Linked DNA regions of Homo sapiens: region 2 is linked to region 1. The links are contacts of gene promoters, found by promoter capture Hi-C in blood cells and fetal thymus (Javierre and others, 2016). All regions are on one chromosome and are shown on one strand. Each heading gives the region's core, a stretch centred on a gene start or on the middle of the fragment in contact. The rest is flanking DNA. Distances are from core to core; before and after follow the strand shown. Region 1 holds the start of FBXO3 (F-box protein 3). Region 2 overlaps CAT (catalase).

Region 1 (5,727 bases), core at 2,470-4,969:
TGGCTAAGTCTTCGACTGACATAACAACAGCTGGCAGTAACCAGATTCACCGATAGTATTTAAAAAAGTAAGAAAACAATTTAAAAATAAAGATTAAAATATTCATTGTTTTGTTTTATGCCTTTTGTTTCTCTTACTTTTCACTTATTACCCTTATAATTACAAAACTATTTTCTAAAACCTGTTTAACATGTTAAGTAGTATAATTGCCTTGTTAGTAGTGAAACTGAGTTCACAAATAAACCCTGAAACATCTACAACTGTAATTTTTCACAAAAATATCTACAGACCATATATGCCATTGGAGTTAATCTCAAGTCAAGGAGTTGTCCTATGCTTATTATCAGGACAATACTCATTTCTACATATAGGAAGAAAGTTATTTAGTCATAAACAAAGGGACTTGGGGTTTTTTCCCAAGATCTGTAAGATGTATGCTACTAAATACACAGACTTTTTATTTTTGTTTTTTAAAATTTTTTACTTAAAGGAAAAAAGTATTGCCACAAAAACCACGTTTTCATTAAAGCAACTACTGGAAAGTCCACCTATAGAGGGTGCCTGAATCGTAACAGTTCTGACTCAATAGTCATGGCTACACAAGCTATCAGCTGCCCCAAAACATCGAATGTTAGAAGCAAATAACTTTCTTACTATATAAAGATTTCTAACACAACAGTGTTGCAATCCTGTAAATTCTACCCTACATAATTAATTTGTAAAAAGAATGAACCTAAGATTAGGACTCTATCCTTTCCAGAGAGAAATTACAAGTTATATTAATTGAAAGTAGGTATTCAAAGATCTCACTTGGGCAATAGCTATCAACAGAATCTTAAATCACATCAGGTTTGTCAAGGCCATGACTAAGGTGTGTTAAAAACCATCTATAGTAAACAAAATTGCCTTTGTTTGATTTTCAGATTTTACAGAAACATCATCCTCATCCTTTTCTGCCAAGCTCAGGAGATGCCCAAATTAACTTTTGTAAACATAGGAATCCCTCCAGTTTTGTGCATTCAGTTTCCATACCCTCTTCTTGATTCCTGTCCCTCCACTGCCCTAGGAGCTAAATGACATAAAAGAATCTGGAATATGCATGAAAGATGAATTCAATGCACATCGAGAGTGAAAACTACTGTTCTAGAGATTCTGATCCAGTCGGTTTGGACTGAGATCTGTACCTCAGGCATCTGTATGTTTAAAAAGTGCCACAGGCCATTCTGATGCACAGGTCATTCTGACGCACAGTGTGGCATTTATTCACTCCATTTCAGAATAAATCACTCTGAAATGGAGAGGGTATCAGATCATCTCAATTCAAACTAGGCAACTGATGCTACATGATTCCAGTGTACTAATCCAATCCAACCCAATCCAGTTCAGCAAATAATACCAAAAACTTCAGAGCTTATCACTAGACTAGACCCTTGACAAAATTGGGCTGTATGGTGCAGGAAAAAAGCTGCAATACACTGGATACTTTTCTGTAGATAAAATTCAAATGGTATTCAACTCAATTTATTTCCACAGACATTTACAGAGGGATCATGTCACTTCTGTTTAAAATTGTGATTACTACCTAAAGCATTTAAAGTAAACTCTTACTTCCTCACCTTGGTTCCCAAGGTCCTGCATGATCTCACCACCCTCATCTCATCACTGTCTGTGAGTCACTCCCTACCTCCAGCAACGCCAGCCTTCTGTATCTTCCACCAGGCCATGCTGTTGAACAGTACCGTTCAGCAGTCCCGTCAATCTCTGAACATACTTTTCCCTCTGCCAGAACTGCATATGCCCTGCTTCATATATGGCAGCTCCTTCCGATTTGATCACTTCTCACTTCCTATTCCTTAACAGAGCAATCTATTTCCTTCACAGCACTTAGTACCTCTTGCAATTATGCGCTTGCCCACTGGACTGTAAGCTCCATAAGAGTTGCCTTATCTGCGTTGTTCACTACTGTACCCTCAACACTTAACAGACTGGCACATAGCAAGCCCTCGGGGAAAAAAAAATCTTTGAATAGGAAGATAAGCAAGGCAGCCCTTACAATCAAGAAGCACGCCATCTACCTGACATGGCAAATCAATTCTGCAGGAAGAAGGTAGAGAGGGCATCTTCTCCACCTTGCCAAGTTGAGAAGAGGTAGGCAAGGCATTCCAGGCAAGGTCGAGAGCTTGAGCCACAGGAAAAAAAAAAAAAAAGAAAGTGCAAGTGTGTTGTATGCTGGCAGAGGTCTGATTTGGTTAGAATGGATGGTGCAAATGTGATAGTGGTGGAGAAATAAGTCCTGGAGGACCTTAGATATACAAGCCAGATGATAAGAGCTTTCAATGCCCCAGAAGTTTAGGTTATAGTCTATAAACATAGGGGTGTCACAGGTTTTAAGGAGAATGACAACCAGATGTGTCTTGGAAAGATTACTCTGGCAGCAATCAAAAGTTGGAGACTGTTAGTTAAATTGTAAGTATTTTCTAGAAAAATAAAATTGCTAGCAGGTACAGGTAGCGACCAGTACAGGTAGTGACCAAAAACTTGAGGTATCTCTCTATCACCACTTAGCTAGGCCAACAACTATCTGTAGCTCCAAGAAATCTGTATTTATAAAAAGACCTCTAATAACACAGGGCACAATCATCAAATGGCTAGAATCTAATGGTTAATCCAAACACAAAACAAATCTCGCCCACCTATCCTAAGAGGGCGACTTTGCATCCTCTGCAAATATATACGGTAGCACAGGAAACTCACAGCCATGCCACCCCCTGTCAAGGGTGTAAACAATCCTGACAGCTGGGGGGCGGGCTGGCAGCGCCATTTCTTCCACCACCCCAGACAGTCCCAAGTTCTGAAGAAACTGGGCATTGAACCACCCTTATCAGCAACCGGTGTTTATTTCTGGAACAGATGCTAGTAATGTGGGAAACCCAAGGTGTCCAGGAGAAAAGATAGTCACCGGTATGGCATCACCGGAAGTCAGTACCAAAACATAAAATCCAACATCGAACCGTAAGGAGCAATGCTGACAGCAAAACAATTCTCACGCACTGAAGTCCGAAAGTGAGCCCGGACAGCGATTCTGGCGCTGGGGAAGTCGCGCCAGGGGAGTAAGGGGTTGCCTATCTTCTCCTCTCGCTCACCCACCTGCCCACCCCGGCGCCAGACTCCGCAGGCCCCGGACCCAGCAGAGAAGAGCGCCTGGCCGGGACAGGGGCTTTTACACAGCAGCAGGGACTGACCCCAACCGGGCGGGCACCTGCGGGGCCAGCGGGGGTCCGCGGAGCGCGGCGGTGCGGCACGAGGGCCACTACCTCCTTCTCTTGCAAGTGGGCCTCACCGAGGCCTGGGAGAGAGATATCTCGTCGCTTCTCATACCTGGGCCCAGGACAGGAGGAAGACTCAGGGCGAGGCCCTTTCCGCCCCCGTCTCGCCCCGGTCCCCGGTGGCTCCGCAGGATGAGGGCGGCCCTGGCGTCACCTTCTGGTGTCGCGGAAGCTCGGGTCCTGTCAGCGGCCCCGACCCCCTTTCCCCCTGCCTCACCGCCTCCTCTCCCCATGCCCCCACCCCTGCCATGCGTGTCGTCCCATTACTTGATTAGATCCCGATAGTCCAAAAAGGATAAGATGAGGAGCAGGGGATCGGTGGGCAGCGACTCTAGGGTCAGCGGCGCCGTCTCGGTCTCCATGGCCGCCATCTTGCCTGGCCCGGTGCAGGTCTGGCCCCGCCCTGGCCCCGCCCCTGCCCCGCCCCCACCAGCGCCCGAACCGCCCCCAGCCGCTCTCACAGGTTTGTTATGTAACCGCCGGGCCAGCCCCGCCCTCAGGGTGGGCTGAGGTGCGGCTCCCTGGAGACCCCGCCCGCTAGCCGGGAGCCAGCGGCGCAGTGCGAGTTCAGCCCGCTTTCTTCGCGCTCCGCGTCAAATCTCTCCAGCTCTGTTCTCGCATCCCGGTTCGTAAACTTGCCCAGCCCGGGACCCTTTTGTTGCCAAATCTGCCTCGGTCTGCCCAACTCCTCCTGCGAAATTTTACACTCAGTATGCAGGAAGCCTCGCTCAAAATCTGACACTCCTCCACGCCCTTGGTCCCCAAATCCATTCCTTCTCTTTGTTTTCCAACCCGAGAACCCCTCGTTTTCCCCGCTCAGCCTTCCCCACCCCGCTTGTCCCCCGCACACAGCAGGGCCGCTCCGAGACTTGTCCACTCAGCAAGAGCAGAGCTGAGAATCAGCCAGGGACGCCAGCTGAAGGCCCTTCTCCCAAATTAAGGAAATAATTGTTGAGGGCTTAACTTCACGCCCCTCCCCGCCTTCCTAAGTAAAATGTGTACAAGGAGTGAGTCTGAGTCTCAGCCGCTGTCCCTTAATTTGGTTATCATGGCTATTTTCAGCCTATTAGGGCAATGCAAAGGGTACAGTGTGGATTTTTTCCAGCTTTAAAATTTATTTTGGCCAGGGTTTAGATCCCGCAGAGTTAAGTATCCCGCGTGTGAAGGGATGAACTGAGACTCCCAGAGGGCATAACTGATGGAGGCACGAAGATGTCTGCTCTTCAGCTTTGCCAAGGTGATATTAAAATGAGAGTGGGGGAAGTATAATGGGTCCATACATCACTTGCCTGATTTCTTCTTTTCCATTGCTTTTCCAAAGGTAGTATGGTGTAAGGGGCTTTGGGGAATCCAGACAGACCTGGACTTCACACGCCCGTCATTTATTTCACTACTAGTGAAATGCTGGCGTAGTTACGCCTAAGTTCTCTGAGACTGTCCCTCATCTCTAAAACCACCCCTCCTCTGGTGAACTAAGGATGGCGATAACGCTTTATGTAAAGTGCCTGGCCAGATACTCAATAAATGTTAATTTTCCAAGCTTATACATGCATCAGTCACTAAGTTCTCCAAACATTTCCATATCCTGGAGAAAGTTTCTCTCAATTATTTGGAAGAGTGGAAGTGATATGCCCCGCCCCAAAAAAATCCATTTCCTCCATTCTTCATACCATTAATGCCTTCTATTTATGGTTTTGCTTAATAGTTATAACCCCTGCCACCCAGCCAACAAAACAGAACAACAGCAACAAAAAACTCTGCCTACATCTCTGTGCTTCCAAATTGTTTATGCATATGCTTAGAAGAACATTTATTGAATTGGATTTCAAGTACTTGTTCTGTGTCTCTCTCGTCAAACTGTAAACTCTCAGTCTGACTCATCTTTCTAATTTCAGGGCTTAGCAAGTTATTCAACAACTAGAAAGTTTAAATTCAGGTTGAATGGATGAATGAAGACAGAATAATCATTTCTGTTTACAAGGGAACCATACCTTTTTACATAGACAAATGCTTGTAAAGGTATTTGATCCTGATTTATGTTTGTCTCCATTTTCTACTTCAGATGGGCCACCTGTTTTAAATCCAAAAGCTGGTAGGAGTTTCAGGTACACTGCATTTGCTTCTGCTGTCCTATTGCACTTGGACTTGGTGCAGCTATGACCTAATGCAGAAGACAAAGTATGAAGCTACCAAACTGTCAGGGCCAGAACTAAGGTGAGGCAAGAAAGCTACTTGCTTGGGGCACAAATTTAAGAAGAGGTGCCAAAAAACTGAATAATCAAATAAATAACATTTTAATGCAATATTTTTAAAAATAAAAATTAATGCAAAAAAAATTCACAGTGAACAAAATACCAAACTCTTAAACAAAAACAGGATCCCACAGTGCCATGTAAGCCAT
Region 2 (6,234 bases), core at 1,286-3,785, 670 kb after region 1:
TGCATTGATGTTACACTGCTAACATTTGGGATGGAGAAGGGGTGACTGAGTGACTTAACCCTTGGTCCACATGTGCTTTCATTTCTCCTGAAATATACCTAGGTATGGAATCGCTAAGTCATTATGTGCAGTGGGAGAGACTATGGGAGATGGGACAGAAATTTTTAAGGTTTCATTTCTTTTTTTTAGCTTTTGCATGGTGGGTAGGTCTATGCAAACCTACCCCCAAAGTCTGAGGAAGCTGAGAGGCCAAAGAAAGAGGCTGACAAATCAAGTTTCTCAGAAAGAAATGTTTAGTAGGGACTTAGGACCAGAAACCATGTCTGTGTCTTGCGTGTTGGCGAGACAAGATGGTGGATCCCATACCATTACCCCTCAGACCCAGGGCTTAATACCATAGGGAAGGGCGATTCAGAAGGGAGGTATGGCATGACTGAAGTATGATAATGTCAAGGTTGTTTGACCTCAGGGCAGGATTTATAGTAAATAGGGGCTCTTTCACAAGGAATAATAGATAAACTGGAAATCTTAAAACTGGAGTTAATCAGAAGTCAGCATGGTGGATCAGTATCTAAGACGGAATTGCTTTAGCTTCCACAGCAGTCAATATCTAGACCACCCTTATTATTTTCCCACAGACCAAGAAATTTGAAGGTCAGGACAGTCTTTGGTTTCCTGTACGTGGGTGTATACGTTGTAGGCACTTGAATCTTTGTTGAATAAATGGAGAATGTTAGGCAGTTATTTGCTAGAAAACGCTAGGCACATTCTTTATCACAGAATGAAAAGACGTCATTATGACTCCTCTGGGACTGATGGGCAATTTGCATTAACCAATCTTTTAATTAAAAGTGGAAGAATATGTTTAGGTTCTTGAAACTTCTGTGAGTGAAGGGAACTACTAAGTGGAAAGTGTAATATGTTGATAAAATATTTCACCAGATGAAGCCAACCTTACTCCTCCCAGGAAAACTTCTTCATTTATGTATTAGCTCTGGCCAAAAGAAGCCTATAAAGGCAGCAAAGTCAAAATAGAATTTTACTTTAAGTCCCTACTTCTAATAATTGTGCTAGTTTTTAGCCAAGCTAATTTCTGTGGCAGTTTTCATAACAAGTGTGTCTAAAGGTGTTTGATCAGAATTTATAAATTAAAATATTTCTCTCATTTTTTGGAGGGGCGATGCAGGGAGAGGGATAGACTGTTGCTGCTTCCTCCTGCTTGTTAGAAAGGCTCTTGGCCATATCATATTGGTCCGTGGTTTAGTTTATTTGCATGCTGAATCCACACACATTTGTTTTATGTTTGTTAGTATATTGAGCAGTGTATTAGGGATCAGGTATATAGATGTAAAAGGAGTACACAGTCTAGAGAGGAAAAATAGTGACAGGCTGGGCGCGGTGGCTCACGCCTATAATCCCAGCACTTTGGGAGGCCAAGATGGGCGGATTTCTTGAGGTCAGGAGTTTGAGATCATCAGCCTGGCCAACATGATGGAACCCTGTCTTTACTAAAAATACAAAAATTAGCTGGGTGTGGTGGTGGTCGCCTGTAATCCCAACTACTTGGGAGGCTGAGACGGGAGAATTGCTTGAACCCGGGAGGAGGTGGAGGTTACAGTGAGCTGAGACCATGCCACTGCACTCCAGCCTGGGCAATAGAGCGAGACTCCATCTCAAAAAAAAAAAAAAAAAAAAAAAAAAAGAAAAACAGTGACATAAACAGGCAATTACAATATTTTGTTATATGGGGCACAAGAAGATGCCCTTGGCCCTGCTTCATGAGTGGTGTGGGGCAGGGTAGAGAGAGCAGTTCAGGAGAGGTACGTATGGATGTCATGGGAGCTAGCAGCCAGGAAGATGTAAACATGTTAACAAGGACCTCTCCAGAGAGAGGTCTTAAAATTATCCAGCCATAGAGAAGCTTTTCTCTCTTTAAAAATATTCTGGCTCTAAAGTTATTCATTGAGTTAAAAACAATAATTGCAAGTTGGAGGAAATCTCTTTGCCTGTCCTTACGTGTTACATGTAACAAGTAAACCTGTGCCACAACACTGACATCTCTGCAAAGTTACTTAAGTTTTCTGAGTTTGTAGTATCGCCCATTAAATGGGATTAATAATATTGATCTCTGGATTATTGACAGGCTTAAGTGAGATAACTTGCGTGGTCCGTTTTCTAGCCCCACCCTCTCATTTCATCTAGTAAATCTTCATTGCATTAATTATTTTCATCTTAAATACACCGCATCCTGCTCCTCACCTTCTAATATTAATACTCTATCTTTCAGTTTAGATCAGTTCCTCTTATCCAATGTTGCGCTAAACATCCCCTGAAGTTGGGGGATCTTTTCCTTTCTAGTTTTTGCTCCCTGGCTTCCCTTTTCTGTTGCTGACTGTTGAAGCTTTCCTGCCCCACTGGCTTTGAAGGTAAATTGTATATACATGAGCTTGTGGGGAAAGCTGTTATATAAATGAGGACAATTGATCTAACTGTTAGAGTGGGGAAATGGAAGAGATTCTGAAGCCTCCATTTGTAACTTAAAAACTCAGGTTTCATTTCTTAACAGGATTGATGTTAAGGAGGGGATTCCTTCATTGGGCAGGAGGGAGGACTGCCATAATTCCAGCATTCCCACTCTTAATAGTCAGTGTCATCAGGAAAGACCACCTCAAGCTTTAGTACTTTATTCATTTATCCAACTCTGCACCTGCTGCCTTTGGGTGTGGTATTTATTCTTGACCATATCACCCTGACCCGGTAACCAGAAGGGAACATGTGATGTGCTCTCATCTCTGCCTTAGGGGCAGCTCCCTCCCCACGTTAAGAATGCTGGCATGTAAATAACACTCTCATCTGTTTAGCGTTCCTTTTACTGAGCTTCTTGGTATCTTTTCTCATACTTGTACCTTTTATGGGATGTCCCCCCCTTTTTTTTTTTGAGACGGAGTTTCGCTGCTGTTGCCCAGGCTGGAGTGCAATGGCACGATCTCAGCTCACCGCAACCTCCGCCTGCTGGGTTCAAGCGATTCTCCTGCCTCAGCCTCCCGAGTAGCTGGGACTACAGTCACCCCTCCACTGCACCTGGTACTAATTTTGTATTTTTAGTAGAGACAGGGTTTCTCCATGTTGGTCAGGCTGGTCTCGAACTCCTGATCTCAGGTGATCCACCTGCTGCAGCCTCCCGAAGTGTTGGGATTACAGGTGTGAGCCACCGCGCCCAGCCTGGATGTCCCTTTATTTTTTAAAGGCTTCCTTAAATACCTTGTTTGTAAGTTGAAAAGAGCATTTAAAGAGTGAACAGATTTGGTTTGCTCTGGCTCTCTAATTATTTTAACTTTGTTATCACCCAATAGTTCTAGGTTAGTGGTTTTCAATCCTAGCTTGAACAGGAGTCATTTAAAAATAGCCCAGGCCTCACCCAGGGCACTTCTATCAGACATCTCTAGGGGGGATGGCCCAGGCATCAGGAGGCTTTAAAAAGCTCCTCAGGTGATTTTAGTGCATTGCCAAGGTTGAAAACCAAGGCTTTAGGTTTAAACTAAAGGTGAAATTGCTCTTTTTCTGGTTCATTTTCTACTTTAGAAAGTAGAAATTTTTTTTCTGGTTCATTTTCTACTTTAAATTAAAAATAAACCTACAGAGGGTAACACGTATTAGCACGTCACAGAGGGTCACACGTATTAGCAACATATGTATCTTCAAAAGAGTGATGTGACTGGGTGGTAAGTGTTGATTGGACCCTTAAACTGTGACAGTTTAGAAGGGGCTTTGCTAGATGGGTTTAGGGACAGAGATGGTAGAGTGAGAGAGTGTGGATGGAGGAGTATGCATCTGTCATGATTACTAGAAAAATAAAACTTCAAATGCTTTGCTCCTTCTGCTGCGAGGTCATGTTCTCACAGCCAGTGAAGTGACAGCATATATGTGTTGAATGTGTGGCTTGCATTTTACATTTAACTCTTTTAATTCATGTGTTAACCTTAGGAGGTACTTATTATTCTATTTTGCAGATGAAAATGGAGACTCATAAATAAGTAACTTACCAGCAGCTACATAGCTGGTAATTGGTAGAACTGGAAGTTGGACCCAGGCTCTAGTGCTGGCACTCATAGTTTCTCCCTGCTGCCATGTTGGCCTCTTCCTACTTGGATGAAGATATAACTCTAGTGGCAAGGGCATTTACTAGTGTGTGAGAGGGTCTTGTTTATTAGTTTTGCAAATTGCACGGTCTCCTTTATTCAATATCTTTTTTCAAACAGCTCACAGATCTTTTGTGGTTTTGTAAGTGCCTACTCCCCACCGTATTGCCTTCTAGAGAAGAGGCAGGAATTTATTTTAATGTACAGGACAGACATGCATGGGGAGTAAAACTACAGACTCCACTCTAGGTGTGTGGAAATACTAAAAATAGTGCTTTTCTCTGTGTGTGAAGTTGGTCTGTTGAGTTTTGTCATAGACAGCGTTGAGTTCCTCTCCCAGGTGGAGGTGGCGTAGCTTTGCGTCACTTACGTGTCTCTCCTGATTTCCAGTGACCCGGGGAAGACACTGCAGAGGCAGTTGTCTGTGGTCAAAAGTATTCTCTGACCATGGAACTAGATGAAGCTATGAGCTTCCAGGATCATGTGGGGCTAGAAGAATGCCGCTCTAACCCTAGAGGAGGGACAGCTGAGTGTCTTCTGATGTAACTGAAATTGGAGAATCAGGTGGATTAAAATTAATTATTTATTACAGTAAAATAACCTATCCCATTTCAGAGACATTTGCTATCTTTAAAACATTAATACTATAATCCACCTTACCAGTAACAGTTTACTTTTAGTGACAGTGAAAGCCATTGACTTTTTTTTTTTAATTGAAAAGAGATGTTGCAAATAGCTGGTGTACATTTCTTGAGATGCACTAAACAAGGTAGCGCACTTGAAGATCGTGGCAGTAATAAAGCGTTTGTAAGTTCTGAGTAAAGTATTGACCAGCACAGCTTCCCTGGAGACCGTCTTCTCATTGCTGGATTGGACATTTCACTGTTAAGCTTGTAGGACGCTTTTGGGCACCTCTCTGACTGGGAGCTTTGCAGAACCCAGTGGCTTTCTCTGGAGCAGGTGCTGAGCACATTTTCAGGCTCCAAAATCATCTTTCTGCTCTTCAGAGCAAGTTTCTTAGCAGATTAGTGTTGAGATTTGTCAAGGGTTTCTGGGGCATCACTAAAAGTTTCAGGCAATGGCCCATCCTGTCAGATTTTAGTACTTTGGACACAGGAAATTAAAAAAGAGGGCAGATGGTATAAACATTGCAAAGCTATGTACCCGTGACAGTGTAAATGAAAGGTTTGATTGTGCTAACTCTCCTGCACTTTCTTTCTGTGTTCCTGTAGAAAGCTGATGTCCTGACCACTGGAGCTGGTAACCCAGTAGGAGACAAACTTAATGTTATTACAGTAGGGCCCCGTGGGCCCCTTCTTGTTCAGGATGTGGTTTTCACTGATGAAATGGCTCATTTTGACCGAGAGAGAATTCCTGAGAGAGTTGTGCATGCTAAAGGAGCAGGTAAGTGCTGTGTTTATTTGCTGTAAAAAGATTGTTTCACAGCACCTGGGTCAAGTGTTATTTCCCAAAGGATTGGAAGACCTTTAACACAAGTGTCAAATCTCCATTTGTGGGAGAAAGGAAAAACATCCAGCAGTAGGGAAATTAGTAAATAAATGATGGTTATTTCCTCAGGTTAAACATTATATATAAAATAGTTTCTTTTAAAAATAGCAGTCTTCCATTTCTCCCATCATTGAAGGAATAAAAATACAATAAGTCCTCACTTAACATCAATAGGTTCTTGGAAACTTTGACTTTAAACGACATGTAATGAAACCAATTTTATGATAGGCTAATTGACGTAAGCAAGAGTTAAGTTCCTATGGCATATTTCTGATTGATAAAACATCATCAAACTTCTAAATAGAGACTCAAAATACCTCTTATATTAAACATTGAAATAAATGTGAGCCATACATACCTTTAAGAAAGATTAGTAAAATAAGATAGTTATTTACTAGCTTATTCCAGTTCAAGGTGGTGGGAGGCCAGAGCCTGTCCTGGCAGGTTGGGGTACAAGGCAAGAGCCAGCCCTGGACAGGATGCTGTCCATTGCAGGGTGGACTCACACTGGGACCATTCAGACATGCCAGTTCACCTAACACGCACATCTTTGGGATGTGGGGGGAAGCTGGAGTACCAGGAGAAA

What was found. The method cuts DNA at HindIII sites, captures the fragments that hold promoters and counts their contacts. A CHiCAGO score of 5 or more calls a contact.
Region 2: a contact is called between a fragment that was not itself captured here and the fragment with the promoter of FBXO3 in region 1, in 2 of 17 cell types (fetal thymus and total CD8 T cells). The highest score is 6.2, in fetal thymus.

What each region holds. Positions count from the first base shown.
Region 1 is chr11:33,770,801-33,776,527 of GRCh38, forward strand. FBXO3 (F-box protein 3) reads right to left here and starts at 3,720. Exons shown (of 11, transcript NM_012175.4): 1 at 3,594-3,720; 2 at 1-30. The coding sequence starts at 3,697. FBXO3-DT (FBXO3 divergent transcript) reads left to right here and starts at 3,899. Exons shown (of 3, transcript NR_120550.1): 1 at 3,899-3,951; 2 at 4,454-4,563; 3 at 4,648-4,870. RefSeq lists silencers at 1,563-1,857, 3,183-3,252, 3,713-3,812 and an enhancer at 2,734-3,234. The HindIII fragment of the contact is 5,455 bases long and covers 1-4,864 here.
Region 2 is chr11:34,443,821-34,450,054 of GRCh38, forward strand. CAT (catalase) reads left to right here. Exons shown (of 13, transcript NM_001752.4): 2 at 5,372-5,543. Among named protein-coding and RNA genes, the nearest start is that of CAT, 8.0 kb to the left of the region's middle. The HindIII fragment of the contact is 272 bases long and covers 2,400-2,671 here.